Linked DNA regions of Homo sapiens: regions 1, 2, 3, 4, 5 and 6 are each linked to region 7. Evidence: promoter capture Hi-C in 16 types of primary human blood cells and fetal thymus (Javierre and others, 2016). All regions are on one chromosome and are shown on one strand. Each heading gives the region's core, a stretch centred on a gene start or on the middle of the fragment in contact. The rest is flanking DNA. Distances are from core to core; before and after follow the strand shown. Region 1 has its middle 110 kb from the start of LINC00609. Region 2 has its middle 81 kb from the start of LINC00609. Region 3 has its middle 120 kb from the start of BRMS1L. Region 4 overlaps SLC25A21 (solute carrier family 25 member 21). Region 5 has its middle 53 kb from the start of BRMS1L. Region 6 has its middle 90 kb from the start of BRMS1L. Region 7 holds the start of NKX2-8 (NK2 homeobox 8).

Region 1 (4,062 bases), core at 1,054-3,553, 620 kb before region 7:
ATATGTATATATGTATCCTTTTTCTGTTATTATTGAACCACTTGAAGTTGCAGACATTGTGATACTTCACCCAGTGATACTTTGGTTTGCGCTATCTAAGTGTAAAGACAATTTTCTATATACCCATTACACTGTTCATACCGAAGACAATTAATGTGAATTCAGTTTTGTCATCTAACATGCAGCCCATTAAAAATTTCCCCAGTTATACCCAATATATCTATTTAGGTGCTTTTGTTGACCCAAGATCCTATGAAAGTTGGTTAATTCTGTGGTTGTAATGTTTAGAAACTTTTAGTCTAGAAGGGGTCTACGACTTCTTTTATTTATGATATTGACTCTGTTTTAATGATCTAGGCCAGTTGCCTTGCAAAAATGTCTCCTCTTTGGGGATTTGTCTGATTGTTTTCTCACAGTTAGGCTCAGGTTAAACATTCTTTGCAAGACTATTGGATAGGTCATGTGTATTTCTTATTGGATCCACCAGGAGGCACACACCAGGCTGTCCTACTGTTGATGATGCTAAGTTTGATTGCTTGGTTAGGAAGGTAATGTCATGCCTAATTTCCCTATTGTAAAGTTAACCTATGTGGTCATATTTTAAAACCATAATCTTTGACCTAGTGGTTTTGGTATCCACTGATCATTTTTACATTGGTGGTTGAAAAATGGTGATTTTCTAACTCTATCATTTCCTCAATATTTTTTAGTTGGTGTATTAGTCTGCTTGGGCTGCCAAACGAAACACCACAATCTGGGTGGCGTAAATGGAAATTTATTTTCTCATAGTTCTGGAGGCTAGAAAGTCAAGATCAATGTGCTGCCAGGGTTGGTTTCTGGCGTGGCCTCTCTTCCTGGTTTATAGATGCCACCTTCTCACTTTGTCCTCACAGGATCTCTTCTCTGTGTATATGCATGGGGGGGAAGAGGGAGAGAGGGAGAGAGGGGGGAGAGAAGGGGGTAGAGAGAGAGAGAGAGAGAGAGAGAGAAAGCATGAGAGAGCCCTTTGGTGTGTTCTTCTTATAAGATACCAGTTCTGTTGAATTAGGGCCCAATCCTTAGGGCCTCGTTTAACCTTAATTACCTCCCTAAAGATCCTCTTTCCAAATACAGTCACATTGGGGGTTAAAGCTTTAACCTACAAATGTTGGTGGGGATGTAATTCAGCCCATAACAGTTGGTATTCTTCTGTAAAGCGGAGCTTTCTTTTATTTTTCCCTTACCTCCTCCTCCTTCTCTTTTCTCCCCATCTCTGCCGCCCTGTTTTCTTCTAAGTATTGCTATGGACTCATGCATTTATTTTTTATTTAATGTGATAATCTATCTCTGTCATTATTCATTTTAATGATCAAATTGTCCAAGATATGGACAGTGGGAGCTCCTTCAAATTAGTTCTTGTGTCCTTTTGACATGCCTCTATTAGTATGTAAGCACTTTCTTGCTTTCTTGAACAACAAGATATTCCAGGTTGCCTTGTATTTTCCCTATTCCAACCATTTTTGGAATCAGCCATTTCTCCAAGTAACCCTGGTTCCTTTTAGTGGGAAACGGTATTTAGAAACACAATCTGTGTGTTTGTTGTTACTAGTTATGATTACCCTCTAAACCAGTTATTTTTAATAAAGTTCTCTATATTATACCTATAGAACCTGTGCCAACGAAGGCTTTATTGAATTAGAGACTAACTCTTCAAGAGTACAATCAGGCATTTAATAAGCATTTGGAAAGCCTTTGATTGGCTTGGGACATAACATGCACTTAGTATATTGACAAAAGAAAGAAAGAATGAATGAATGGCCTTGGGTCATGGGTTTTTCTTGATCTGCTGGGAGGGTCTTCTAACTCCAGTGAATTCGCGCAGGCTGTGGTGAGTGGAGGAGATTGGGATCAATCCTAATGTATTATCTACATTTTCAGCATGTATCACTCTCTCCCATTATTGAGAAAAGTCCAGATTCCCATCTCCTGAGCCTCTATAAGCTCTTACGGCTGTTTTTCCAGGAAATGAATCTGTGGTGCCTCCAACTCTTCGTTTGTGTTTCTCAGTGCATCCCCTCAGGTTTCTAGGGCGATGAGCTGACTTATCTTGAAAGAAATACTTGAAATTTTTTCCCTAGTTTTACAAAGCAGATAGCTAAGGAATTTTTTTTCACAGATGAAGAGAATCCAGTTAAAATGAAGCAAGGAATACAGATTTCAGAGCACTTGAGAATCTCGTACATTTAATATCTATTCTGAGGAGCAAGGATTCAGTAGCAACCACTCTTTGAGGATCTATTTACTGTCAAAGTGTAATTGGATTTTGATATAGCAGTTCATTTTGATGGGGGTGGGGATGGGAAGGTGATTACAAAGTAACAAACAAAATGTAAGCGATGGGACCTTTGATTTATTTATCTTTTCTTGCTCCTGGATCTTTACAGATACTGGGAATAAACCCCTTATCCCCCACAGTGGTCTTAGAAAACAAGGCATACACTTCAACTACTTCTGCTGTGAATAATCCATTGAATCCAAACAGTATTATACTAGATTCATCAGTGTTCACACAAAGGTCATATCCTTACATATCTCTTTGAATTTGTGGGACACATATGGTGTACCACTTCTATAGAAGAAATATTTTCATTTTAGAATTCAACTTTTATAACCTTTGGCAACATGTAGTATCAATGGCTCTTTGTTGTTCAAAAAAAAAGTAAAACTGTAAGCTATCCCCAAGGATATTCAGGGCGTTGCTATAGCAACAGAATCTGCCTCCCAGCACCACAAGAGAAGCTATGAATAAAAGATGGTGTTCTAAGGACAACAGAATAGAAGAGGTTGTTTCGATCCTTCTAATACCTGATATTTGCTGTTATTTTGTTAAATGCAAAATAAAAATCTTGGGGAAAGGCCCAGTTTCAATATAGAAAAGGATGAATTTCTATATTGTACTTCAGATGTTGTGAGGAAAAAGACATGCTTTCTGAATAGTATCAGCCTGTGGTAGGAAGACCAGGGAAGGGCCAAAATATTTGATTTATATATTTTTCTGTTTAGTTTTGTACTTCAGGTGAAGAACCTCAAAGACAAATGTGTTAATCAGAAATACAAAAGAATGGGATTATTTTAAATTCTGACCCAAAATAGTTTCCTGATTCCATATTTAAACACAAGCATACTTTACATAAAGGTACCATAAAACAAAATGTTCTAATTTCAGCTTGCATTGTTTATTCTGAATCCAATTCTTTCATGTATACCTACTTGGTCATCGATTTTTAATGGTTTCAACATAGCTACCTATCTACCTACCAACCTAGCTATGTTTCATGATACTGGGTATTTTAGGACCCAAATCTGAAGGTGAAACACAAGGTTTCAGTTGATTCAGAAGTGAACGAACTTTGAACCTCTCTATTCCCTCCCTCCTCACCCACATGTACATATGTATATCTTGCCACTTGTGTCTTCATATCATGTTTAGTTTTTATGAAGCTTATTTTGTTGTATGAAGCTATTGGTAAAATGTTATTCAGAGAGGAGGTGAAGAACTTACCCCTCTGTAAGTGCTTATTTTCAAAATATTCAGAGCTACATAAAATTACTGCCAGAAAATATGACTATTAGAGCAAATGGAATGCTATAGACTAAATCGTATCCCTCAAAAATCATGTGACTAACCCCCAATGTGACTTTATGGACATATGGCCTTTATGGAAGTAATTATGACTAAATGAGGTCATAAGGGTAGGGCCCTGATCTGATAGGATTAGTGTCCTTGAAGAGTAGGACACCAGAGCTTGCTTTCTCTTCACTTGCAGACATGAAGAAAAGGCAATGTGAGGTTACATCAAGAAGGCGGCTGTCTATAAGCTAGGAAGGGAGCCCTCACTAGAAATTGACCATGCTGGCTTCCTAATATTGGACTTTCAGCCTCCAAAACTGTGAGAAAATAAATTTCTGTTGTTCAGGCCACACAGTTTATGGTATTTTGTGATGGCGGCCCAAGCTGACTAATACTCCTGTATTAAAATTATAATATTTTGTATAATTATTTTCTTAATTTTCCATCAAAGT
Region 2 (3,879 bases), core at 663-3,162, 590 kb before region 7:
GTGAAAGAGATCCGACTTAAATGACTCCATCTTGCTTCTGACCTTCAGGCTGCGCTTGTTCTTTCCTGGGTGTAGGTGAAATAACTTTTGGAGGAACTTAGTTTATAGTTTACCTTTGAAACAAAGTTACAGCTGACAATAACATCCCTTTCCCCAAACAAATCCTCTTCCTGCCTAGGGACTAGACAGCCTTTGCAGGATTAACAAATTAGCCACAAAATTTGAAATTATGGTTTAGGAGTCATGCAGCTGGAGGCTGCAAGATTCTGAACCTCCCCAAATTGCTCCTGGGAATAACATCACTATTGTAAAACCTAAGATTAGGGCTTGAGATATTTTGCAGACCTTGTACTCAGTGGGTCAGCTGGCACCACTCAGATCGATAAACTGGCTCATGTGGTCTTATGGCCCCCACTCAGGAACTGACTCAGCACAAGAGGACAGCTTTGGCTCCCTATAATTTCATCTCTGACCTGACCAATCAGCACTCCCCACTTTCCAACCCCCCTACCCACCAAATTATCCTTAAAAATCCCAATCTCTGAGTTTTGGGGGAAACTGATTTGTGTAATAATAAAACTCCATTCTCCCTTACAGCCGACTCTGCGTGAATTAAATCTTTCTCTATTTTTTTTTTTTTTTTTGTCTGTTTGTTTTGAGACAGAGTCTCACTCTGTCGCCCAGGCTGGAGTCTTGTTCTGTCTGCCAGGTTCAAGCGATTCTCCTGCCTCAGCCTCCCAAGTAGCTGGGATTACAGGCGCCTGCCAGCCACCACACCCAGCTTATTTTTGTATTTTTAGTAGAGATGGGGTTTCACCATGTTGGCCAGGCTGGTCTCTAACTTCTGACCTCAAGTGATCCACTCACCTCAGCCTCCCTAAGTGCTGGGATTACAGGTGTGAGCCACCGTGTCCGGCCTAAACTCTTTTGTATTGCAGTTCTCCTGTCTTGATAAATCAGCTTTGTCTAGGCAGCAAACAAAGAGAACCCATTGTGTGGTTAAAGCAGTTTAAGAAAATAAAGTTGAGATAAAACATAGCATGATATTTAAGACTTACTGTGTATCAGGTATTGTATAAGCTTCTAAAATACATCACTACTCTCAATCTTCAAATTATCTTATGACACGAGTAATGTAGATATCCTTATTTTACAGATGACAAAACTGAGGCACAGAGAGATGAAGTAAGTTGCCTAAGGTCACACGGGAAGTGGCAGAACTGGGATTTAAACTTAGAAAGTCTTGCTGCAGAACATGCGCTTTCGTACAGCTAGCATTTAGGGAAATGCCATAGCGATACTCTGGTTGCCTTCAGCTCGGGCAGCATAGGACCAAGTCTTGCAGGGTTCCTGCACCTTGAACAATATCCAGAATTATACAGAAACATTTGGACCTCCACGAGAGCCAAAAATAGACCAGCAAGGGCAAATGACTCCTGTATCTACTTCTGAATGCGTGGTGTCCCAGGCTGTCATTTCTATTAGAGATGTACTTGCCTTCCTAGGGTCATAGTGCGGTGCTTCAAGCCACACCTTCACTCTTCTACCCCGCTGCCCAACCACTGTCAGCTCCAGCCATCACCATTCTACGCCATTTCACTCCACAGCAGCTGGAATGGCTGACAGTGTTCCAATAATTGTCTTAGTTTTGGCGAGTGTTCCACACTCAAATACATCTGCTCTTTGTTCTCAGTGCCTCCCAGAAAATTCCACGATAGATAAAAATAATGTCTAGGTCCCCACTCTTGTTTGCCTCTAGGTGTGGCCATATGACTCATGCTTGCCAGCGGCATGTGAGCAGATGGGGTCTCCCAAGTCTGGGCCTTAGGACACTGAGCATGCACTCGTCCACATGCCGTCTTTCCCTTCTGGAGAGCTGGAATATAGAGGTGCCTATGACTCTGCTTTGATCAAGCAGGAAAGGGCAACACCCTAGGCTCCTCCTACTCAGAGTATGCTTCATATCCGGGCAGCCAGGCATCACCTGGGAGCTTGTTAGAAATGCAGACTCTTGCCAGGCGTGGTGGCTCATGCCTGTAAACTGAGCACTTTGGGAGGCTGAGGTGGGTGGATTGCTTAAGGTCAGGAGTTCAAGACAAGCCTGGCTGACATAGCAAAACCCTGTCTGTACCAAAATATACAAAAATTAGCCAGGCGTGGTGGTGCATGCCTGTAGTCCCAGCTACTCGGGAGGCTGAGGCGGGAGAATCACTTGAACCCGGGAGGTGGAGGTTGCAGTGAGCTGAGATAGCACCACTGCACTCCAGCCTGGGTGACAGAGCAACACTCCATCTCAAAAAAAATGCGGCCTCTCAAGCCCTATCCCAGACATCAAATCAGAACCTGCATTTTTAACAAGAGCTGGATGATTCACACGCACATTAAAATTTTATGAACCAACAGCGTAGAAAAATCCTGGTTCTCTGAGTGATCACATGGAGCATGGCTTCCCTGATGACTGTTCCTCTCATTTGAGGAGTGTTACAGCAAGAATAGCATAAGCCTCTGTGGTAAGCCACTCTAATGTGGGGTCTGTTTGTTACAATGGCTTAGCCCTCATCCTAAGTAATGCTGTATTGTTATCCTGGTTTTAAGGATGAGAAAAGTGAGATTTAGAATGTGTACCTTCAGGGCTCTGACAGGAAGCAGGATTCAACTTGAGTGGTTTGAACAGAGATTAAGGATGGAGGGCTGGTGTAAGGGCAGGGTTAAGGACAAAGTGCTCATGTAGGGTTTTTTTCCCAGGAAGCTTGGCAGTAAAGGGAAGGAAATCAACTGGTGGCTGAAAGTAGCCTGGGGGTCAGGAACCTGAATATATTGGTGGGCAGTGGGAAAGGAACCAGTAGAATGGAAAAGATCAATGTTAAGGGAGGGTTTGATGGGATCCTGAAGGAGGGGAAGAACAAAAGCATGGTCTAGGCCAGGCGTGGTGGCTCACACCTGTAATCCCAGCACTTTGGGAGGCTGAGGCGGGCAGATCACTTGAGGCCAGGAGTTCAAGACCAGCCTGGGCAACATGGTGAAACCCCGTCTCTACTAAAAATACAAAAATTACCAGTGCATGGTGGTGCACGCCTGTAGTCTCAGGTACTCTGGAGGCTGGGAGGCAGGAGAATCGCTTGAAGCCGGAGGCAGTGGGCTGAGATTGTGCCACTGCACTCTAGCCTGGGTGACGGAGTGAGGTTCCATCTCAAAAAAAAAAAAAAAAAAGCATGGCCTGAGGGGAGAGGATGTTTCCTCTGAGATGGGGGAAAGCGATAAAGATGTGTGTGGAGGTGGTCAGTGTGTGATGTGTGTGTGTGTGCATGCCTGTGTGAGTGTGTGTGCATGAGTATGACTAGGCTTGAGGGAACTCATATCTTCTCTGTGAAGTGGGAGACGAGGTCTTGTTCTGAGAGAGAAGGGGCCATTTCCTGCACTAGTTTGAGGAGACCCTGTGTGAATCAGTGAGGGAAAATGGTGAGTAGATGTGGGGCAGGGCTGTGTGTAGAGTGAACATCTTGACTGCTTTAAGTCTCTCTGCTTTGTTCCTGGGCACAAGGTGGTCAAATTGGAGAATCACTGTGGTCTGGTAGGAAGTTGTAGTTTTTGATGAGGAATATCCTATATTAGATACAGTTTGGTAAAGAACTTCCTTAGAGTAAAATCTGGACAATGGCATCATATCCTGAACAAGCACATAATATTTGAGGCAGTAAAATGGCATGATAATTTCTTTGTCCTTTGGTAGAAGCTGCACCCTGGACCCTGGGCTGAAGCCCACATGTTCCCCTGGTTGCTTTGAGAGAATGAGACCGTGTACAATAGAGTGTCCAGCTTTCGCTTCACTAACTCAAGCCCCTGTTCAGAATTCACATGTGGGAAAATTATTTGGAAGAT
Region 3 (4,026 bases), core at 728-3,227, 640 kb before region 7:
AAGATATTGATGAAAACGAGAGCTCTTCGAAAATTCAATAGTCGTTTTTTTTTTTTCCAAAAAGAGAAGAGAAGCTAATTTGTAAACTGTAGGTTGGTAGTCTCATTATCAATTATTGAGAGAGTGGTTTGTAAATCCTTGCAAAAGTAATTTTCTCTGCCAATGCAGCAAGGCAAGAAAATATAGAAAAAGTGCAAGGACTGGAAGGTAAGAGACAGTATTGTCATTATTCTTAGACGATTTGACATTTGATTTTCACAGAAAACTTAAGACAAGTGACAGGCTATTAAAATTAATGAAGGAGTTCAGTGAGATTGCTAGAAGAATCCAATAATAACAACAAAAATATTAAGAAGAGTTCTACACTTTCACCAACCAATTAAAATATGCAATGGAAAATATGATGGCTTTTATTAGAGCAACAAAGCTTGAAGAATCTAGAAAGTGACCTGAAATGCAGACAATACTCATGGAAAAATATTAAAACTTGATAAAAAGATATAAAGAAGCTCTTAGAGTTTGGAACATGGTAGGCACTGAAGAAATATTTGTTGAATGAATGAATCTGAATAAATGGAGAGATACGGCTCTCTCTCTCTCTCTCTCTCTCTCTTTCTCCCCTCTTTGTTTTTTTTTGGAGACTGCCTCTCACTCTGTCATCCAAGCTGGAGTGCAGTGGAACGATCATTGCTCACTGTAACCTCAAACTCCTGGGCTCAAGCAATCCCCCCGCCTCGGTCTCCTAAAGAGCTGGGATTACAGGTGTGAGCCACTGGGCCTGGCTGGCATTCTCATAGATGGAAAAGTTAACATTGTACAGCCCTTATTATTTATTTGTTTTTTAATGTAGTTCCAATATGGTGGGAGAAAACGTAAGGGGAAGAAACAATATTGGGAATGTGGTATAAGGGGGAACAACAACAACAACAAAAAGTAAAAATAAAATAGGCCCAGGCGCGGTGGCTCCTGCCTGTGATCCCAGCACTTTGGGAGGCCGAGGCGGGTGGATCACCTGAGGTCAGGGGTTCGAGACCAGCCTGGCCAACATGGCGAAACCTCGTCTCTACTAAAAATGCAAAAATTAGTTGGATGTGGTGGCACGTGCCTGTAATTCCAGCTACGCGGGAGGCTAAGGCAGGAGAATTGCTTGAACCCAGGAGGCAGAGGTTGCAGCGAGCCAAGATCGCGCCACTGCACTCTAGCCTGGGCAACAGAGTGAGACTCTGTCTCAATAAAATAAATGAAATAAAATAAAATAAAACAATAAACTGATGATGATAGGGTGCCATGAGCCAATCAATTTCATAGCATGTGCCTGAGAACCAAGAGAGGCGAAAAGAAATAACACAAAACTTTTCAATTAACATAAGCTAGAAAGTTACAAAATAAAGCCAGAAGCTATGGCTGATGTGCTTGATGGTGATCATCATCCCAGGAGAGCTTGAAAAGTGAATCGTTGGGTTGACTTTAGCAAGATGAAATCAGATAGGTGCAAGGGTAAAGTCTTGTCCTTAGGTCCAAAAACTCAATGGCAAAAACAGAATATAGAGAGAAATGCCTTAACAATATCACATGGGAAAAAAATTTAAGAGTTTAAGCTGTGTGAATTAATCGGATGTAAAACTGACTTACCCCCCACCACAAAAAAAGGAAAATAATCTGCTTTTAAGCTGCATTGATAAAGTAATAAAGTGTTATATAAGCCAATAATGCTCAACTTTATATTTGTAAGCCCAGCCTTCTGACATCAATACTTATTTCCCACAAGCATCTCAGATACAGCAGATACATTAGCTTTTTCTCCTAAATGTTATTCTCTGTCAAGGTAGTTTCCCAACTCATCTGTTCCCAAACTTGCATGGCTATCTACTCTTCCTCTAGAATATACTAATATACTTTCCTTTTTTTTTTTTTGACGCAGTCTCACCCTGTTGTCCAGGCTGGAGAGCAATGGTGTGATCTTGGCTTACTGCAACCTCCGCCTCCCGGGTGTGTTGTTCCTCTCCTGTGTCCATGTGTTCTCACTGTTCAGCTCCCACTTATAAGTGAGAACATTGGTGTCAATGTTTTTTCATGCATGTCTTGCCTGTAATGATGTGGGGGATGAATTTCACTATGGTGCTAACTTTGTCACCATATCCTAGGGTCTCTTTTTTCTCCTTTTTAGTTAGTTTTTATACTCAGTATTTACTTAACATAGTGTTTTAATAGATAGTGATGAGAATATATGCTTACATTTTATTTTATTGGATCACAAAAAAGTTGCTCTTCAAGTATTTTATTATTGACACAGAGTCTAACAAACATAAAGAACAGATACTTGTTAGAAATATTTATAATTTGATCCAGCTATTTAGCAAAAATTGTAATATGTATTTCTTTGAATGTTGAGCTCTGTTTCACCTCCTCCTTCTTTCTAATACCTTTTAGTCACTGTTTTAGGTTGGGTTCCCAAAGAAGCAGATCCTGAGGCATGGATTCGAGTGTAAGAATTAATCATAGATTTGGGAGGAAGAGATCCAAGGAAGGGATGGCGGCAGTGAGAAAAGGCAGGAAATGAAGCTACCGCAGGGAATGTTCTCAAGCAGCTTTCTGCTGTGGGCAGCTCCCCCTGGGACCCTCTGGAGTCAGTACAGATTCTGAGTTGTGTCACATGGAAGGCAATACATCCCTCAGCTCTTATATGTTTGTCATTGGCTAGACACCAATAACCAAGCACTTCCGGCCTACCTATCTGCGGCCCCAGAGAGAGCCCTCAGGTGGAGAACACAGGTGTTGCGGCAAGATGCAGTTGTCTGGCATAGGGACAATCTGGACAAAAGGAATGTGGGCAGGGCCACTGCCTCCTGTGAGATGGTCACCACACCGCCCTCAGAATGTTGTTGACCATGCTTCCTAAGGCAGAAAGAACAGGTATTTTTAATTTGTACTTTTGAATAAAAATCCTGCAAAAGAGACTTTTTAATCTTTATCAAATTTAGTAAATTTTTGTAAGGTTTTCATAGCCTAGATATAAATCCATATTTTAAATAGGCTTCTTCATATTTATATGTGTGTGTGTATATATATATATATATATATATATATATATACACTATATATACACATACATACACACACAGACACACACACACACACACATATTTGTGGTCAATGAATTGTTAGTATTTTTATCTGGCAAAGATATTATACAAGGAATAGAAGGATCAGTTTTGCCTTTTTCTCAGTTTCTCTTGTGCTAACTCTATTAGAATTATCTTCAGTGTGGTGTTTCTTGGAAGAGATCTTTTAATTTATCTATTTTATGACAGTTATTTGCTTAAAACTAGGTAATATTCATAAATCTATTTAACTGGACACCATAAAATGCAACATGTTACAATAATTACAAAAAAGAATGATGAGGTGATGGTCCAACCCTTCATATTATGGGATTCCATTTTCCTGCAGGATGCTCTGCTCACTATATGATGTGTGACAGTTTGACATTCAGACCTATTGATTGTTAATTGAAATGAAATATTAGTGAAGCTTAACATTTTCCTAAATCTTGGAGTAAAAATAAGTTAGAAGTTCCCATAATTTACCCCAGTGGATCATCTTGTGTGTCCCCTGTGGTGTGTGCACCCCAGTTTTGAGACCCCTGGACTGTAGGAAACAGTTCAGATGCCTTAGTGTGGCACACACTGTCCTCCATTGCTTATGCTTCCAACCTCAGTTCTTGCCTGGTCATGCCTCATACCTTGCGTTTTGGTCAATATGAACTTTTTGAAGTTGAATTGATCATGTTGAAGCGTATGGCAGAACCTTCACTTATAATTGCTTCTGCTTGGAATGCTCTTTCTTTGGACTGTCCAGTAACACCTCCTCCATGAAACTTGCTGGTCCTTTCCCACGCCTGAGGGAGAACTGAAAACATCCTTTTTGGAACACTACAGTACTTTCCTCCTTAGACCTTAACCCTTCTGTTGGACATATTTGCTAACCTTCTTGGCTCCTTTTTTTTTTTTTTTTTTGAGATGGAGT
Region 4 (3,925 bases), core at 1,342-3,841, 570 kb after region 7:
ACTCTGTAGCCCAGGCTGGAGTGCAGTGATGTGATCTCAGTTCACTGCAACCTCCGCCTCCCGGGTACAATTCTCCTGCCTCAGCCTCCCGAGTAGCAGGGATTGCAGGCACTCACCACCACACCTGGCTGATTTTTGTATTTTTAGTAGAGACGGGGTTTCTCCATGTTGGTCAGGCTGGTCTCGAACTCCTGACCTCAAGTGATCGGTCTACCTGGGCCTCCCAAAGTGCTGGGATTACAGGCATGAGCCACCACCCCCAGCCCTTATTTTCCTTATGTATTTTGCTTATATGTTTTTCCTACATATGGTAACTGTGAGTCTTTTTTCATTCAACTTGCCCGCAAATGTGATTTTATATATACTGTCATATATTTCTAACTTATATAAATAATGCAAAGTAAAAGATGTCCTTGAGTTTATAAGGTAAAAAATATTTTTGTGTGTAGCTACACATTGTATATTTTATATTGATTGTATGTCAGATTTCTATTATAGAAAGCAAATCATACTATTTAGCATGAGATCATCTTCATTTAGATACACCATAGGTCAAAACACAGATGTTTTGTCTTCATTGTTGCTCTGAGAAACTATGATTCCTACAAGAAACATTCCCTCCACCATCAGTAAAATAAGATGCTATGAAAGAGGTCAAAGTATTTGACGTCTAAATCAGAAGGTATTTTCTTTACTTCTGCCATATTTCTATATGGTTACATGGGGATATATAAGCAAAACAGGTCTCAATGAAATTGAATTGCTTTGTGGCAAATGCATTGAATAAATATACATTTATTGAGCAGCTACTATATTCAAAGCACTGTGGTAGGCCTGGAGATACAAAATAAACATGACTTGGTCTCTTCCTTAGAGGGGCTCACTCTTCATAAGACTTAAAAAACAAGAAATAGATCCAATGCACTCTTTTAAACTAATAACAAAAAATCAAGGAAAAGTAAAATAGATGCTTGTGAAAAGCCTCTTTGCAGAGTGAAATGGAATACTACATATTATGTAAGCATACCAATGAAAACATTATCAGTATATATAATGCTGGATGACGGCTATTTAAATATCCAAATTGAATGAACAAATGATGGCTCACAATAGCCTCAACCTCCAGGGCTCAAGCAATTCTCCCCACTTTGGCCTCCCTAAATGCTGGAATTACAGGCGTGAGCTATCTGTGCCTGCCTAGATGATCCATTTTTTGACTATGGAAGATATGAAGCCAACAAGAATCACATAGACATCATTATCACCACTGTTTTTTTTTAACTTAGATGCCAGTGCCTCTACTTTTCTCTTTTTCTTCCCTTCCTTGCTTCTTGTTGAACTTCTAATCTCCAGCTATGAGCTCAAAATACAAGGTATACACCAATGCAGATGTCCATGAACACATGAAAGAAACAGAAAATCTACTGTCACTTTCTTGATGCTTTATGAGGCAAACCTAATGAAACTATATTGCTCTGTAAAACAAAGTTGCTTACCATTTTCATATCATATTCCTATTTCAACTTTACAGAATATAAATTAAATGTTTTCTTAGGGCAACTAAAAACTGCTCCATCAAAAAAAAAATCCGCTAGGGCCGGCCACGGTGGCTCACACCTGCAATCCCAGCACTTTGGGAAGCTGAAACCCCATCTCTACTAAAAATACAAAAATTAGCTGGGCATGGTGGTGGGCGCCTGTAGTCCCAGCTACTCAGGAAGCTGAGGCAGCAGAATCGCTTAAACCGGGAGGCAGAGGTTGCAGTGAGCTGAGACAGCACTACTGAACTCCAGCCTGGGCACAGACTCAGGCTGACTCACAGAGCAAGACTCAAAAAATAAATAAATAATCACTAAATAGTCTTTAATATTTCTTATATTTAGTACAGTACCTTCAATATTCATCCTCCTTAGAACTATCTTGAAATCCCTTAGCTGTATACATTTCTCATTAAGAGAGAAAAAATAATTTAATTTAGTAATTATTTAAAAATTTTTTAAAGACATGGGAAAGTTATACTGCCATCTTGTGGTTAAAGTTTGATTACAGAAGCAAGCACTTCTGGCATTTCCCATTCATAAACCAAATCCACAACATAATATGTATCATACTTAAAACTTTTTCCTTACAGAAGGAGTAGGGTTGAAGGAAAAAAATCCTGTTTAGAACTTACATTCAAGAAAAATTATTATTCATACATATACCCAATTTCTTATGTTAAAGGCCACTGAATTAAAACAAGAAATGGCATTTGAGTCCCAGATACATAAATAAAACCTACGTGTTTGGCACTGTAGCTCCTGTTTAGAGATGTTTATAATTTATTATGACTATAATACATACCCTAGCCCTAATAACTTTGAAAAACAAAATTATGGAATCTAGGAGTTTCAGGTAATCTCTAAGATCTACAAGAAATTATGACATTTATCCTAAGCTTATCAATGATTTCTATTTTATCCAGGACTCTAATTCAAATTTTACGGCAAGAACCAACATAAAGAAAATAAATATTATACAAATAAAAACAGTTTCTTCCATCCCTCTTTCTTACTCATATACATAAACCCATTTTTCCATACATACACAGGTATGAATCACAATTAAAAGAAAAATTAATTCCCAAAGTACAGTCTGTATTTTTCAAGTGTAGAATTCTCTATGATCTATGCAAGGCAAAGATGCTTTGCAATAGTGGAATGTAATCAGAAGTTAACACACTTCTAGATCTAACTATATCTGCAGAAAGCTTTTCCTTTTAAAAAGAAAATAAAAAGCAAATCACCAAAATTATAGGAAGACAGCGCCATCTATAGGTCTGCACAAGTACAGAATAGTAATCTTAGTTTCAGATATAAATGTCCACTGTGATAAACTAGCCAATCAAATGTGCTGTCCTAGGCGGACGCTCCAAAATAATGCTGCTCATTCTCAGATCTCTGGAGAGGATCTTGCAATTTACTCCAAAGTGCTTTAACCTGCCTCTACAATCATGCCCCAAAATGATAGTGATAATAACAGCAATAGAAGCCTCAAGCAATCAGAACAAAAACTAATGTTTTTCACAATTGTATTATTCTGATTTGGCATACTTGATGGTCGATAAATATTGGTAACTTTTCAAGAAATATTAGCACATTGGTAGGTTCTCTCTCTCTCTCTCTCTTTCTCTTCATTCTGCAAAATTACTTTGGGCCATGATTCTATTTTAGGTGTCATCCAATTCTATCGAGTTCTATTGAATTTCATTCTTCTTTCTCCAAAGAGGAGGCTATACGTTCTCCCTACAGTAGTCTATTCTAGTTTTTACAGACATTAAATTACATGCGACTTAAGATTCCCTCCTTTTTCAGACAGGCCCCTCCTGTCCACTCTTGGGTTGCTCTCACTCTACTGAGTCACACCAGTATCTTATTAGTTGTGTGCGAATTCAGTTAACAATACGTGAGGGTGGAGGCTTGGCCCACTTCCTGACCAATTGCCTGTAGCATCTGGCAGAAAAAAAGATGCCGCATTAATGCCAACAGAGGCACTGCTGGTTAATATGGAGAATTTCATACTTAAGCTATGGCTGGCATTTAAAAATCTGCAAAAACAAGAAATGGACTTTTGTACAAGGGCAGACCCTGTTTGTTCATTAACACTCAAGTTCAAGAAAAAGCTGTGGTATTTAACATAACCAGAGAGAAAAAGAAGACTTATGGGGGCAATACTTGAAGGGGCTGCTTACCTGATTTCTCATTCTGCACACTAAGAGGCAGGGTGGAGTAATGGATGAGAGCTCAAGCTTTGAAAGCAAAGAGCAGAGTTTGAGTCTGTGTCTGTCATCAGCCTTGAACAAGATATTTAATTTCTCTGAGCTTCACTTTCCTCATCTTCAAGAAATTACAAATTGGCTCATGCCTGGAATCCAGCACTTTGGGAG
Region 5 (3,662 bases), core at 389-2,888, 700 kb before region 7:
ACTTAATATAAAGAAAACCAAATATTATCTCCTGTGCACATTCCTCTCCCAGTCTGGAATGTACTCTATTTGTGCTTCCACCCTTGATACACACAATGACTCACATAAATTCAGACCTTGGAGAGGTTGTGGCAGGTAGCTAAACTCATGAATTTTGGAGCCAGATTAGCTGGATGTGAACTCTACCATTTATCGGCTGTATGACCTTGGGTAACTTCTTTTTTTTTTCTTTTTCTTTTTTTGAGACAGAGTTTCGCTCTTGTTGCCCAGGCTGGAGTTCAATGGTGTGATCTCGGCTCACTGCAACCTCCACCTCCTGGGTTCAAGTGATTCTCCTGCCTCAGCCCCCCAAGTAGCTAGGATTACAGGTGCGCACCACCACGCCTGGCTAATTTTTGTATTTTTAGTAGAAACAGGGTTTCACCATGTTGTCCGGGCTGGTCTCGAACTCCTGACTTCTGGTGATCCACCTGCCTCGGCCTCCCAAGGTGCTGGAATTACAGGCATGAGCCACTGCACCCCGTCAACCTTGGGTAACTTTTTAACCTTTTTGTGCCTCAATTTCCCCATCTGAAAATGGAAATAATACTTCATAGGGTTGTGGTGAGGACTTAATGAATATATGTCAAGTGTGTAGAACAGGGCATGTTACATGATAAATCCTATGTAAGGGCTGTTGATGAATTTGACTTCTCCTCACATCTGTGGAATTAGCTAGTCCTGTAGATTCTAACTCTGAAACATTTCTAACTGAAAGCATTCTCTTTTCTCTATTCCCACTGGTGCTGCCCTAGTTCAAGCCTCTGGTATATTTTACTGAAATAATTGTGATGGCCTAACTGGGTCTCTCTCTTTTTATTTTATTTTAATTTTTCTCTTTATAGCAAATATTACATTTCTAGAACCCAGAACTGATTTTTTTTTCCTCCCAGCTTTAAATCTTTTTTTCAAATCTTTTGCTTACCCAGAACTTCAATTCTACTTTTTCCAGGAAATGCTTCTTCCCTGATCTGACTGTGTGGTTCTAATGAGAACACCTCTTTCTCTAATACTGCACAATTCTTGGTCCTAGTTGAGTGCACTAGGTGAACGTGTAACTCAGCCTGCCCCAATTAAAACCCTTCTCTTGGATCTCTTAAACTATAACTGCAGGAAAAAGTATCAGTCTCCCTCTTATGTTGGAACTGGGACAATAAAGTTTGGAAATTATAGGCAATGACATTTCCTGCCCTGTGGAGACAGCTGAGGAGATGAGAGGTGGATGGGGAGTTTCTTGGCATTTAGCCTCGTGCTATGAGCTGACTCATAGTCCATCTGCACTCCGGTCTTCCTTGTGTTATGTGGGTCTTCTAATAAATTCCCCTTTTTCCAAACGATTTTGAGCTGGATTTCACACCCTTGCAACATTTATGATGCATCCTTAGAGCTTCATATTCTGTTGATATCCACTTTGAAAATCATCACAAACTTTTATAATTTCAGCACAAAGTCAAGGAATTAAAAAAAAAAGGTATTCATGGAATTACAAATATATGCATGAGAAAGAGAAAAGCAGTCCCTGACAACTAGGAACTGCGTGATAGGCCTTGGTGTTCTGTTGAACATAAACAATCTCACGGAACACCAACATCACGGCCACTCTGTGACCGTGAGGAAGTGGGGTCAACGCCCACCCCAACAACATCTTGTCTAAATATAGACAAAAACAAAGTCAGTCTGCAAACCACAAAAAATGTGGAACATTCCCCTATTCTGGCTAATGTGAATGACTTCTGCTTCTTTACCAATTATAGCATTAGCCTCACTTCATTCCACCTGCTTTATAAGTAAAACTCATTAAGATACTAAATTATGGGATTGCCCCCACTTCCTGACAGCATTTTATCCAGAGCAAAGCCCACTTCCTCAAACCCTACCAAAAATCTCCCAATAAAAGCCCAAATCCTATAAGTCCCTTTTAACACCTTCTTACTCAGACATCCACAGTTCCCTATGGTGTGGTTTCTCCCTCCCTGAAATGAGCAAGAAACCCAACTTGTGCAACTGCCGGTGTGTTCCTGGTGGCCTTTGGCTGGAAGGCATTGACACGTGGAACATTTAAAACAGTTTGCTGTAATAGTTTTTTTTTTTTAACTAGATTTAGACAATGATACAAAGTACATTCTGGACACAGATCTGGGAACTTCTAGTATATAATTATAATGGCTGATAAAAAACAGACTTTAATTTTCAATTACACATTATTGAAAGAATCACAAAAGACAAAAAGACAAGGCGAAAGGCATTTCCTGAATGCATTTTGTACTGCAATCTAAATTAGATAGTAGTACTTTGCTTCTAAAGCCAGAAAATAATATTAATATTTCTACTATATTAACCAGGGACTATCATCTGGAAATGTAAAAGCTACAGTCCCAGTGCATTTTCATTAAAACCTGAAGGTGGCAGTAAATTCCTACAAGACTTAGGTGCCTAGGTTAGAATTTGTATTTTTCCTCCTAATTATTCAAAATGGTATAGTGAGACTTCAGTTGTATTTAATCCTGTTGCATACTAATTAAGAGATGTTTAGGAAGAAGATAAAGCTCTACACAAGGATTATATTATTATTACTCTTTATTAGCTGAAAAAAATTCACCATGTAAAGGGCTTAGGGACATTGCAACTGGTTATATGCTTTAGAGTTACTGTAGAAACAAAGTATGTAATTAAACAAAAGGGAACATGAGAGCTTGTAATACAGATCAAAGTGCTCTGAAGGGATGTGGCAGTAAATATAATCATCCATCAGTATCCTCAGGGGATTGGTTCCAGGATCCCTGCAAATACCAAAATCTACAGATGCTCAAGTCCCTTATATAATATGGTTATTTGCATATAACCTATGCACATCATCCTTTAATTCATCTCTAGATTACTTGTAATTCTCAATATGATGTTGTGTAAATACTTGTTATACTGTATTGTTTAGGAAATAATGACAAGAAAAAAAGGACTGTACATGTTCAGTACAGATGAAACTATTCTTTTTTTCTGAATATTTTCCATCTGTGGTTGGTTGAACCTAGCTGATGTGAAACCTACAGATATGGAGGACTAACTGCATAGTTTATATTTATCTATTAAATAATAACCATGTTGTAGATTTTTGCCCCACATTTCTCCCAATTTTGTCCTCAAAATTCTTAAAATAGAATTTTGTATGGTTGTGTTTTTACCTAATTATCTACTATAATCAATATAATCTCTGGAATATTATTAATCAGGGAAGGCTTAACTGATAATTTAATATAGACAATTTACAAATAGCAAGTTAATATTCATACTGGAAAATGAGTTACTTTGTTGATCTTTTATATAAAGATCTAGAACTAGATTGTTTCATAGTTTCTTTTCTTAGAGAGTAAACATTATCATTGGTCCACTGAATTATATCCAAAGTTATAGTAATGTTTTAATGACCTCAATATATAGGCATGAGATTATTAGAACTTTGAAAATTGGGAAGAATAGGATTTCTGTAATCTTTTTAGATAAAAGTTAAATGGGAGCGAGAAGGAGACGGATGTTGAGAGAACGAGGAGGAAGGAGAGAAAATGGCGTCAACGGATTACAGTATCTATAGCCAAGCTGCAGTGCAGCAGGGCTACAGTGCTTACGCT
Region 6 (4,256 bases), core at 1,504-4,003, 670 kb before region 7:
AACAATGTTTTGCAATTTCCAGTATATAAGTTTTGCACATCTTTTGTCAAATTTATCCCTAAGTATTTCGTATTTTTAATGCTATGTAGATAGAATTATTTATTTCAATTTCTAATTGTTCATTTCTAGCATTCAGAAATATAATTTATTATAATATGATTATATATATATTATATATATATGACCCTCAGTGTAGGGATTAAGGGTTGAAAATTTATGTATAACTTTTCTTAATTTTTTTTTTAAAGACAGGGTCTTGCTCTGTCACCCAGGCTAGAATACAGTGGTGTGATCATAGCTTACTGCAACTTCCACCTCCTGGCTCAAGCAGTCCTCCCACCTCAGCCTCCCAAGTAGCTGGGACTACAGGCATGTGCCACCATGCCCAGGTAATTTTTTTTTATTTTTTGTAGAGATTGGGATCTTGCTATTTACCCTGGCTGGTCTCAAACTCTTGGCTTCAAGGAATCATCCTACCTTAGCCACCTAAAGTGCTGATATTACAGGCATAAGCCAACACGCCAGGCCTGTGTATAACTTTTAACTCCCTCAAAACTTAAGTACTAATAACCTGCTGTTGACTGGAAGCCTTACCTATAACATAAGCAGTCAATTAATACATATTTTATATGTTATATGTATTATATACTATATTATAATAAAGTAAGCTAGAAAAAAGAAAATGTTATTAAGAAAATCATAAGAAAAGAAAGTGTATTTACTATTTACTAAGTGGAAGCGTATTGTCATAAAAGTCTTCAGCCTCACTGCCTTCACACTGAGTGGACTGAGAAGGAAATGGAAGAGAGGTTAGTCTTCCTGTTTCAGGAGTGGCAGAGGAGGAAGAAAATCCACATAGAAGTGGACCTGTGCAGTTCAAACCCATGTTGTTTAAGAGTTAACTTCATAACATATAAAATATATAATTATAAGACAGTTGACTATCTTACATTCTGCAACATTGGTAAATTCATATTTCATATCATTTTTGTAAAATCCTTCAGATTTTCCACATCTTGCCTGATTGTACTGGCTAGTGCCTCCAATACAATGTTGAATAGAAACAGTGAAAAAGAAACATCCTTGCCTTTTTCCTGACCTTAGGGAAAGTGCATTGTATCTTTGCCCATCAAGCATGATGCTAACTCTAGATTTTTCACAGATGCACGTTATCAGGTTAAGGAAGTTCTTTCCTATTTCTAGCTTGCTGAGAGTTTTGTTGGTTTTGTTTTGGTTTGGTTTGGTTTTTGGTTTTGAGACAGTTTCGCTCTTATTGCCCAGGCTGGAGTGCAATGGTCTTGGCTCACTGCAACCTCCGCTTCCCGGGTTCAAGCAATTCTTCTAACTCTTGCTGAGAGTTTTTACCAGGAATGGATGTTGGGTTTTGTCCAATGCTGTTTATGCATCTATTGAGATGAATATATAATTTTTCTTTTTTAGTTTTTTAATATGCTGATTTTTATTAATTGATTTTCAAATGTTAAACCAATCTCATATCTCTGAGATAAGCTCTGTTGTTTCACAATGCATCCTTTTTATATATTGTTGATTTGATTTGTTCATAATAATCCTCTATTATCCTTTCAATAGCTGTAGAACCTATTGTGATTTTCTGTCATGCCTGATTTTGGTAATTTATGTCTTCTCTCTTTTTCTTCTTGGTCACTCTGGCTAGAGGTTTATCAATTTAATTGATCTCTTTAAAGAATCATAATTTTGTTTCGTTGATTTTTCTCTACCTTTTTTTCTATTTCATTGATTTCTACTCTGCTCTTTGTTTTTTTTTTCTTCTGTTTACTTTATGTATCATTTGCTCTCTTTTTCTAGTTTCCTAAGGTGTAAGCTTATGTCATTTATTTGAGGCCTTGTTTTTTTCCTAGTATGGTCATTTAGTGCTTTAAATTTCCCACTAAGTACTGCTTAGTATAGTAGCAGTATTCTACAAGTTTTGATGTGTTGTGTTTTCATTTCAATTCAGTTCAAAATGCTTTCTAATTTTTCTTTTGATTTCTTCTTTAACCCATGGGTTCTTTAGAGCTTAGAAATGCACTTTTCAGTTTCCAAATATTTAAGAATTTTCCAAAGATCTTTTGCTTATTGATTTCTAATTTAATTCCATTGTGACTGGAGAATGCACATGTTTATGTATAAATACCTTTAAACTTACAGAGACATATTTCATGTCCCCAAAATATGGTCTATCTTGTATTGTGTGCATGTGGAAAAAAATGTGCATTCTGCTGCTGTTGGAGTTTTCTAAAAAGGTCAATTAGATCAAGTTGGTTACTAGCGTTGTTCAAGTATTTTATACCATTGCTGATTTTCTGTCTAGTTCTCCTATCAGTCATTAAAAAAAGGTTTTTAAATCTCTGTAATTGTGGATTTGTCTATTCTGTACATTTGTGGTTTGTGTATTTTGAATCTCTGTTATTAGGTGCCCAAATGTTTTGGATTGTTTTTTGCTTATGATGAATTGACTGCTTTTTCATTATGATAACACGTTCTTCATCCCTGCTAATGTCATTTTGAAATCTGCTTTGTTTGCTATTAATAACTATTCTAGTTTTTGTTTAATTAATATTAGCATGGAATATCTTTTTCTATTCTGTTACTTTTTACCTGTTTGTGTCTTTACATTTAAAGTGTGTCTCTTGTAAACAGCATATAATTGGATTTTGCTTTTTTTTAATCCAATCTGATCAGCTGTGCCTTACAATTAGGGTATTCAGACTATTTGCATTTAATCTCATCACTGATATGGTTAGGTTTAGATCTATCATATGGCTATTTTTTATATCTTCATCTGTTCTTTTCCCTTTTTCAACTTTTTCTGCCTTCTTTGGGGTTCACTGAATAAAATAAATATATTCTTGCTGAGTACAGAATTCAAAATTAAAAATTTTTTTCACTGCTTGAAAGATGTTTCCTCTCTGCTTTCTCACTTACATTGTTTCAGATGGGAAATCTACGGTCATTGTTATCTTTGTTCCTTTATATATAACATGCATGTGGTAGGCAAAACAATTATCCATGCCTGGTTTAGATGATAAGATTTGAGACTTTTGAGTTAGTGAATAGTTCAGATTTTTGACTTTGCATTGATGCTGTAAGGGATGAGATCTTTGGAGATCTGGGGATGGGGTGAATGTATTTTGCATTCAAGACAGATAGGTAAATTTAGGGGCCAGAAGACAGACTATGCTAGGTGGAATAATGGCCTGCCAAAGATGCGCACATCCTAATTCCTGGAACCTGTGAAAAGGTTGGGTTACACGGCAAAAAGTAACTAAGACTGAAGATAGAATTAAGGTTGCTAATTACATTACCTTAAAATAGGGAGATTATCCTGGATTGTCTGGCTGGGTCCAGTGTAATTACAAGAGTCCTTAATGGAAGAGACAGACAAAAGAGAGTCAGGAAAAAAGATGTGACTATGGAAGCAGAATCAGAGAGATGCCTTACTGTTGGTTTTGAAGATGGAGGAAGGAATCCAGGTGGCTTCTAGAAATTGGAAAGAGCAGGGAAACACTTTCTTTCCTAGAGTGTCCAGGAAAGAATGAAGCCTTGATTCCTTTGAATCACTGCTCACACCTTGATTTTAGCACAGTGAGACCCAGGTCCTTCTTCTGACTTAGAGAATTGTAAGATAATAAATTTGTGTTTTAAGCTTCTATGTTTGAGATAATCTCTATGGCAGTGATAGGAAATTCATACATGTTTTTTTCTTCTCTGGCTACCTTTAAGATTTTCTTTTTATCATTGATTTTGATACATAGCATTTTTACATGCCATACACACATTGCCGTCTTTTCCCCAGAAAAAATACTAATAGAAAATACAATTTTAAAATGTTTTGTGCCACTAAAGGAAAAAGCAATAGCCCAGAAAAAGAAGAAGAAAGTTCAGCGATGCATATGTAGGTTATTTCACAAAGCAAACACTTTCTATTGAAGGCTGTAGATAGACCTTTAAAGGACCCTTCTCATCTCTTAGTTAAGTGTAGTCAATATAACATCATCTTCAGAATGATTATACATTATTATCGATAATCTAAGATTTCATAATAAAGGAAGAAAAAAGATATATATTAAAGCTGCTCCATGGAGAAGAAATGTTCACAAATCAGTAATAGAAATGTTTCTATATGTACACTCAAGGACATATGATAGGCTATTTACCTTAATCTGGTTTCATAATTTTATGTAAAGAAAATGCTATCTGTTAATCCAACTAAATTCTATATTTTAAATTCTACC
Region 7 (4,050 bases), core at 137-2,636:
ACCAGATCTTGACCTGCGTGGGCGTGAGGCGAAGCAGGCTCGCCAGCTGCTCGCGCTCGGGCGCAGACAGGTACCGCTGCTGCCGGAAGCGCCGCTCCAACTCCAGCGTCTGCGCCTTGGAGAATAGCACCCGCCGCTTCTTCCTTTTCTCGGCGTCCGAGCCCGGAGACGCGGGCCTAGCGGACGGCCGCTGCGACGAGTCTGGCGGGCTGGTCTCCAGGCTGCTCTCGTCCGAGGCTAGGGACAGCAAAGGAGACACGGGTGGGTGAGACGCCGGACCCTACGAGGGCCTGCTGCCCTTCTGGCGCGGGCGTGGAGGCACTGGCCAGAGGGCACGCCCACTAGCCCGAGACTTTCGGGATGAGGCCATTTCCTGAGTCCACATCTGGACATCCACCTCTCCGAATGCGGTGACCTCATTCATACCACAGCGGTCATCAGCGGGCCTGAGATCGTGCCCCGAAAAAACCCACCCCGGGGCCCTCTTAACATGTCCGCACCGGTAGTTGCGCTGGCCGACCAGTTTATCACAAGCTGGGTCACCAGCGCCGGCCTCCTCCAGGTCGACTGCACTGCAGTGTGCCGAGGTTTGCGGAGCCCTGAGTGGGAACGGGGTGGGGGTAAACTCGCCAACACTGGCCATCCCAGACGGAGGCCTGGAGATCGTGGCCGTGTTTTCAGGCATGGAGAGGGGGCGGGGGGTGGGGTGGGGGCGGCAGGTGGCGGCGCGTTTTAAATTTCAATTATTCCGACCTCTAGAAATCGTCAGACACAGAAACCCCAAATCTCGGAGCACCAGTGCCAGGCAGGGATCTGCTCTTAGGATGTGCCGACCGGGATGAATGCGTTAGGGGTTCGAGGACAGGGCTCCCGTTTCCAAGACTGAGGAAATCTAGACTCTGGGCTGGGATTTCGGCTTTCCGGCCCCTCGTGGGCTGGGCCCTTGATTCTGCTGCCCCACGCCTCCTACCTCCCACCCCGCACCGCAATCCACCACGCACTTACAAGGGTAGTGGCCGCGCTCCGAATCCAGCCAGGCGGCGCAGGGGTCGGGCTGGGGGGCGCGTGGTTCTGGCTCCCGCCTCGGCAGGTGTTGCGCGTCCTGCTCGGGTAAATCTAGAAGGCTGCGCACGGTGAAGCTCAGGCGTCCAGAGGTGGCCATGGCCGAGGAGGGGAAGGAGGCGGGGGCAGGGCAGGCTGGGAACGGAGGGGCGGCCGGGACGCCGCTCCTACGGATGGGCGTGGGAGGCGCTCGCCATGCGCTGGCAGCCGGGATATTAGCGCATTTACAGCGGAATCTCTGTTTATATAAACAGCTCTTCCCACCCAGGCCGCTTTGAAAGCCGAGGTCCGGGTCTCCAGGGTGTTAAGTACCTGAATGAGCACTGGACCAGAGCCGGGGCGAGCCCGGAAGGTGCCACCTCCGCCCCCGCCCCGCCCCGCACCCCGCCCCGCACCCCGCCCCTTGGCGCCCAGTTACCTCCCAGAGGCTGCAGGAAGCAGCATTTGGCATTAGCGATTCTGTCTGATTAGCCCAAAGTGGGGACAGATAATGGGGATTGTTACCAGTGAATAACATCTTGGGTGGCGAGCGGTGGCCACCACCCGCCTGACCCAGCCCCAGCTTCCTCCTCCTCCTCCTGGGCTGACTTGAGGCCAGGCCCCGCGGGAGCGCCGGGAAGGGTGGGGGTGGCAGGGGTGGGTTTATTAGCACCCAGGAATTTATTCCCTGTTTGCTTTATTCTTCGAGCTTGTTTGCTGGAGTGGTAGTTTCCCGCAATTATCCAGAAAGTGATTTACAAAGCGGCGTTAAACTCTGGCGCGCTCCCTTTCTCTTTTTGGTTGGGCCCCTCTAAGATTCAGGATGACAAGTTTCAGGAGGGCGTAAAGATTAGCCTGGCCCTGCCAGCATTGGCCCAGGGGTTTCAACGGCCGCTGGGAGCCTCGGATCACACCATACATCCCCCTAACAGCCTCAGAGGTGCTGAGGAAGGGCTGGGACAACATTCGGAGCCCCAGCTCCACGTCTCCACAGGCCGGCAAAACAGAAGAGGCTTGTAGCCAAGCTACTTAGGTCTACAGTGCCTGTCTCTTTGGCCCAGCTTCGCCCGGCCGCTGCCGATCTCGGAGCTCGGAGGCCGAGCTCCACAAATTTGGGTCCAGGCCCGCTTTAGAGCCCCTGGGCGGGGGCGCTTCTCAGGGCATCCTGTGAGGGCTTTGAGGCCTCCTTGGAGTCGCCAGATGAACTGGTGCCGCCTGTGCGCCTTGGCCCCATAGCCTCAACGGCACTCTCACTGCCTGGGCTTTGGTCTTTGCCCAGGAGCCTGCCCATGGCCTACGCTCCCCGCTCGCAGCATGGCAGACCCTGACGAGGCTGCCCGCCTTGGTCCGGGAATGGACCGATCGGGAGAATTAGGACAGGGCCTACCCGGCAGAAAATACCACCGGCCATGGGTTTCTCTGGGATCTTCTAGTTTCCACAGTTCCACCCTAGAAAATGATCAATGTAGGAGGCGCAGGGAACAGGCCGCCGTGGATACATTTTGTTGGGCCATGGCCTAGCTCTGGCCGCGCTTCAATCTACAGAGGAACGCCCTCTCAGAGGCCTCTCCTACTGAAGCTAGTAGTTTGGATATTTAGTTGCTAAATTGTAGCGAAGGGCTCTGTACTTGGGTGGCTGCACCAGAAGTCCTGGCTCCTCCCGGGCTGAACTCGAACCTGGCTCGGATGCGGCGGCGGCGGCCCTGTCAAGCCCCGCGCACCCTCCCCAGCAGCCTCCCTATCAAGCGTGCCCGAGGTGCCCGGAGCTGCACCGCGCGCTGGGTGGTCGGGCGGAGGCAACCCCAATACAGGCCAACTGCTAGGCCGCGGACAAAGGGGAAATGGAGCTCGACGCCCCGGACCTGTTGGAAGCATTTGTTCCAGTCAAGATTTTGCATTTGTTCAGTCCGGAATAATGCATGATTGACGTCTGCTCACAATGCGCTTTAACGCGCCGGGATAAATCGGAGCTTGTCCGGTGTTGTCATGGTTTTCAATGGGGTTCAATGGGATTGGGAGCACGATCGACTCTGCTGGCCGTCTTTCCGCGGCCCTGGCAATAGATTTATTAGTTATGTCTTTTTAAATAAGATTAAACTGAAATGACTTGGCTGTCCTCTCTGCAGACGGGGCCGGGGCGGGAGCCTGGAGTGGGCAGGGGACAGCGGAGTCTGGAAACCCGCCGCGCACCGCTCCTCAGCTCCCGAGCCCCCAGCGTCTAGAGAGTGGGCAGGTCGCAGACTGGCTCCAGGCCTCGTGGACTTATCTCTGGCCAGAGCCCGAGGCCTGGCAATCTCTGCCAGCCCACCTCCCTAGTGAGAAGCTGAGGCACTGACAAAGACCGTCCTGGGGAAGCAAGTGTTAAGACTGATTCCCAAATTCGGTCTTGAACTATGAGATTGTGTAAGGTAGAAGGAGCTCTGGCCTGGAAATCGGTTCGCATCCTCGCTCTGCCCCTACCTATCTCTAACCACCTCATTTCTCTAAGCTTCCTTCCTTCCTTTTTTTTTTTAAAATTAATCTGATACAGAAGATAGTAGGAGAATAGATTTGGTAATTTCTAAGGACCCTACCAGTTTTATGATTCTGTATCTCAGGAATTTTTCTAAACCTATCTTCATTGTAGCATTTACCAGCCGGATATTTAGACTCCCTCCTCCCTCAGGTTCTCGAATTCTTAGCCCCAGGACTGACTCCGTCTCCAGGATGTTCTAGGAGAGGAGGTGTCATCTTTTGAGTTTCCCAAGGATCCTCCACAGGAGTAGGGTGGGGTGGATAACAATTTAGGGAAGAGAACCAAGTCAGGAGAAGCAAAAGAAGAGTCTTTCCTTGAGTGACTGACCTCTCTTAGCCTTTTAATCTATTTAACATCCTAAGCCCACACTGACGTGTAGAAATAAGTAAATGGCGCTCTTCAGCTCTTAAGAGCTCTTCAGCATCAAATATTTGCTTTTACTCTTAGTGTTTGGCTTCCAAAGCAGAGATACAGGCCCCATCTAGCACTTGTGC

The links. Contacts are between HindIII fragments. The CHiCAGO score rates a contact against its expected background, and 5 or more counts as called.
Region 1: a fragment that was not itself captured here is called in contact with the fragment with the promoter of NKX2-8 in region 7 in 2 of 17 cell types (M2 macrophages and M1 macrophages); the score reaches 8.4 in M2 macrophages.
Region 2: a fragment that was not itself captured here is called in contact with the fragment with the promoter of NKX2-8 in region 7 in 1 of 17 cell types (M1 macrophages); the score reaches 6.2 in M1 macrophages.
Region 3: a fragment that was not itself captured here is called in contact with the fragment with the promoter of NKX2-8 in region 7 in 1 of 17 cell types (M1 macrophages); the score reaches 5.6 in M1 macrophages.
Region 4: a fragment that was not itself captured here is called in contact with the fragment with the promoter of NKX2-8 in region 7 in 2 of 17 cell types (endothelial precursors and erythroblasts); the score reaches 10.7 in endothelial precursors.
Region 5: a fragment that was not itself captured here is called in contact with the fragment with the promoter of NKX2-8 in region 7 in 1 of 17 cell types (M2 macrophages); the score reaches 7.5 in M2 macrophages.
Region 6: a contact is called between a fragment that was not itself captured here and the fragment with the promoter of NKX2-8 in region 7, in 1 of 17 cell types (M1 macrophages). The highest score is 5.4, in M1 macrophages.

Annotation. Positions count from the first base shown.
Region 1 is chr14:35,962,889-35,966,950 of GRCh38, forward strand. No RefSeq gene overlaps it. Among named protein-coding and RNA genes, the nearest start is that of LINC00609, 110 kb to the right of the region's middle. The HindIII fragment of the contact is 2,349 bases long and covers 1,130-3,478 here.
Region 2 is chr14:35,987,523-35,991,401 of GRCh38, forward strand. No RefSeq gene overlaps it. Among named protein-coding and RNA genes, the nearest start is that of LINC00609, 81 kb to the right of the region's middle. The HindIII fragment of the contact is 1,669 bases long and covers 1,079-2,747 here.
Region 3 is chr14:35,942,292-35,946,317 of GRCh38, forward strand. No RefSeq gene overlaps it. Among named protein-coding and RNA genes, the nearest start is that of BRMS1L, 120 kb to the left of the region's middle. The HindIII fragment of the contact is 3,104 bases long and covers 426-3,529 here.
Region 4 is chr14:37,147,873-37,151,797 of GRCh38, forward strand. All of the region lies in intron 1 of SLC25A21 (solute carrier family 25 member 21), which reads right to left. Among named protein-coding and RNA genes, the nearest start is that of SLC25A21-AS1, 22 kb to the right of the region's middle. The HindIII fragment of the contact is 312 bases long and covers 2,436-2,747 here.
Region 5 is chr14:35,877,407-35,881,068 of GRCh38, forward strand. It overlaps the pseudogene EWSR1P2. Among named protein-coding and RNA genes, the nearest start is that of BRMS1L, 53 kb to the left of the region's middle. The HindIII fragment of the contact is 8,468 bases long and covers 1-3,662 here.
Region 6 is chr14:35,914,165-35,918,420 of GRCh38, forward strand. No RefSeq gene overlaps it. Among named protein-coding and RNA genes, the nearest start is that of BRMS1L, 90 kb to the left of the region's middle. The HindIII fragment of the contact is 1,824 bases long and covers 1,842-3,665 here.
Region 7 is chr14:36,581,228-36,585,277 of GRCh38, forward strand. It overlaps NKX2-8 (NK2 homeobox 8), which reads right to left and starts at 1,387. Exons shown (of 2, transcript NM_014360.4): 1 at 1,006-1,387; 2 at 1-237. The coding sequence starts at 1,162. RefSeq lists an enhancer at 1-778. The HindIII fragment of the contact is 11,395 bases long and covers 1-3,527 here.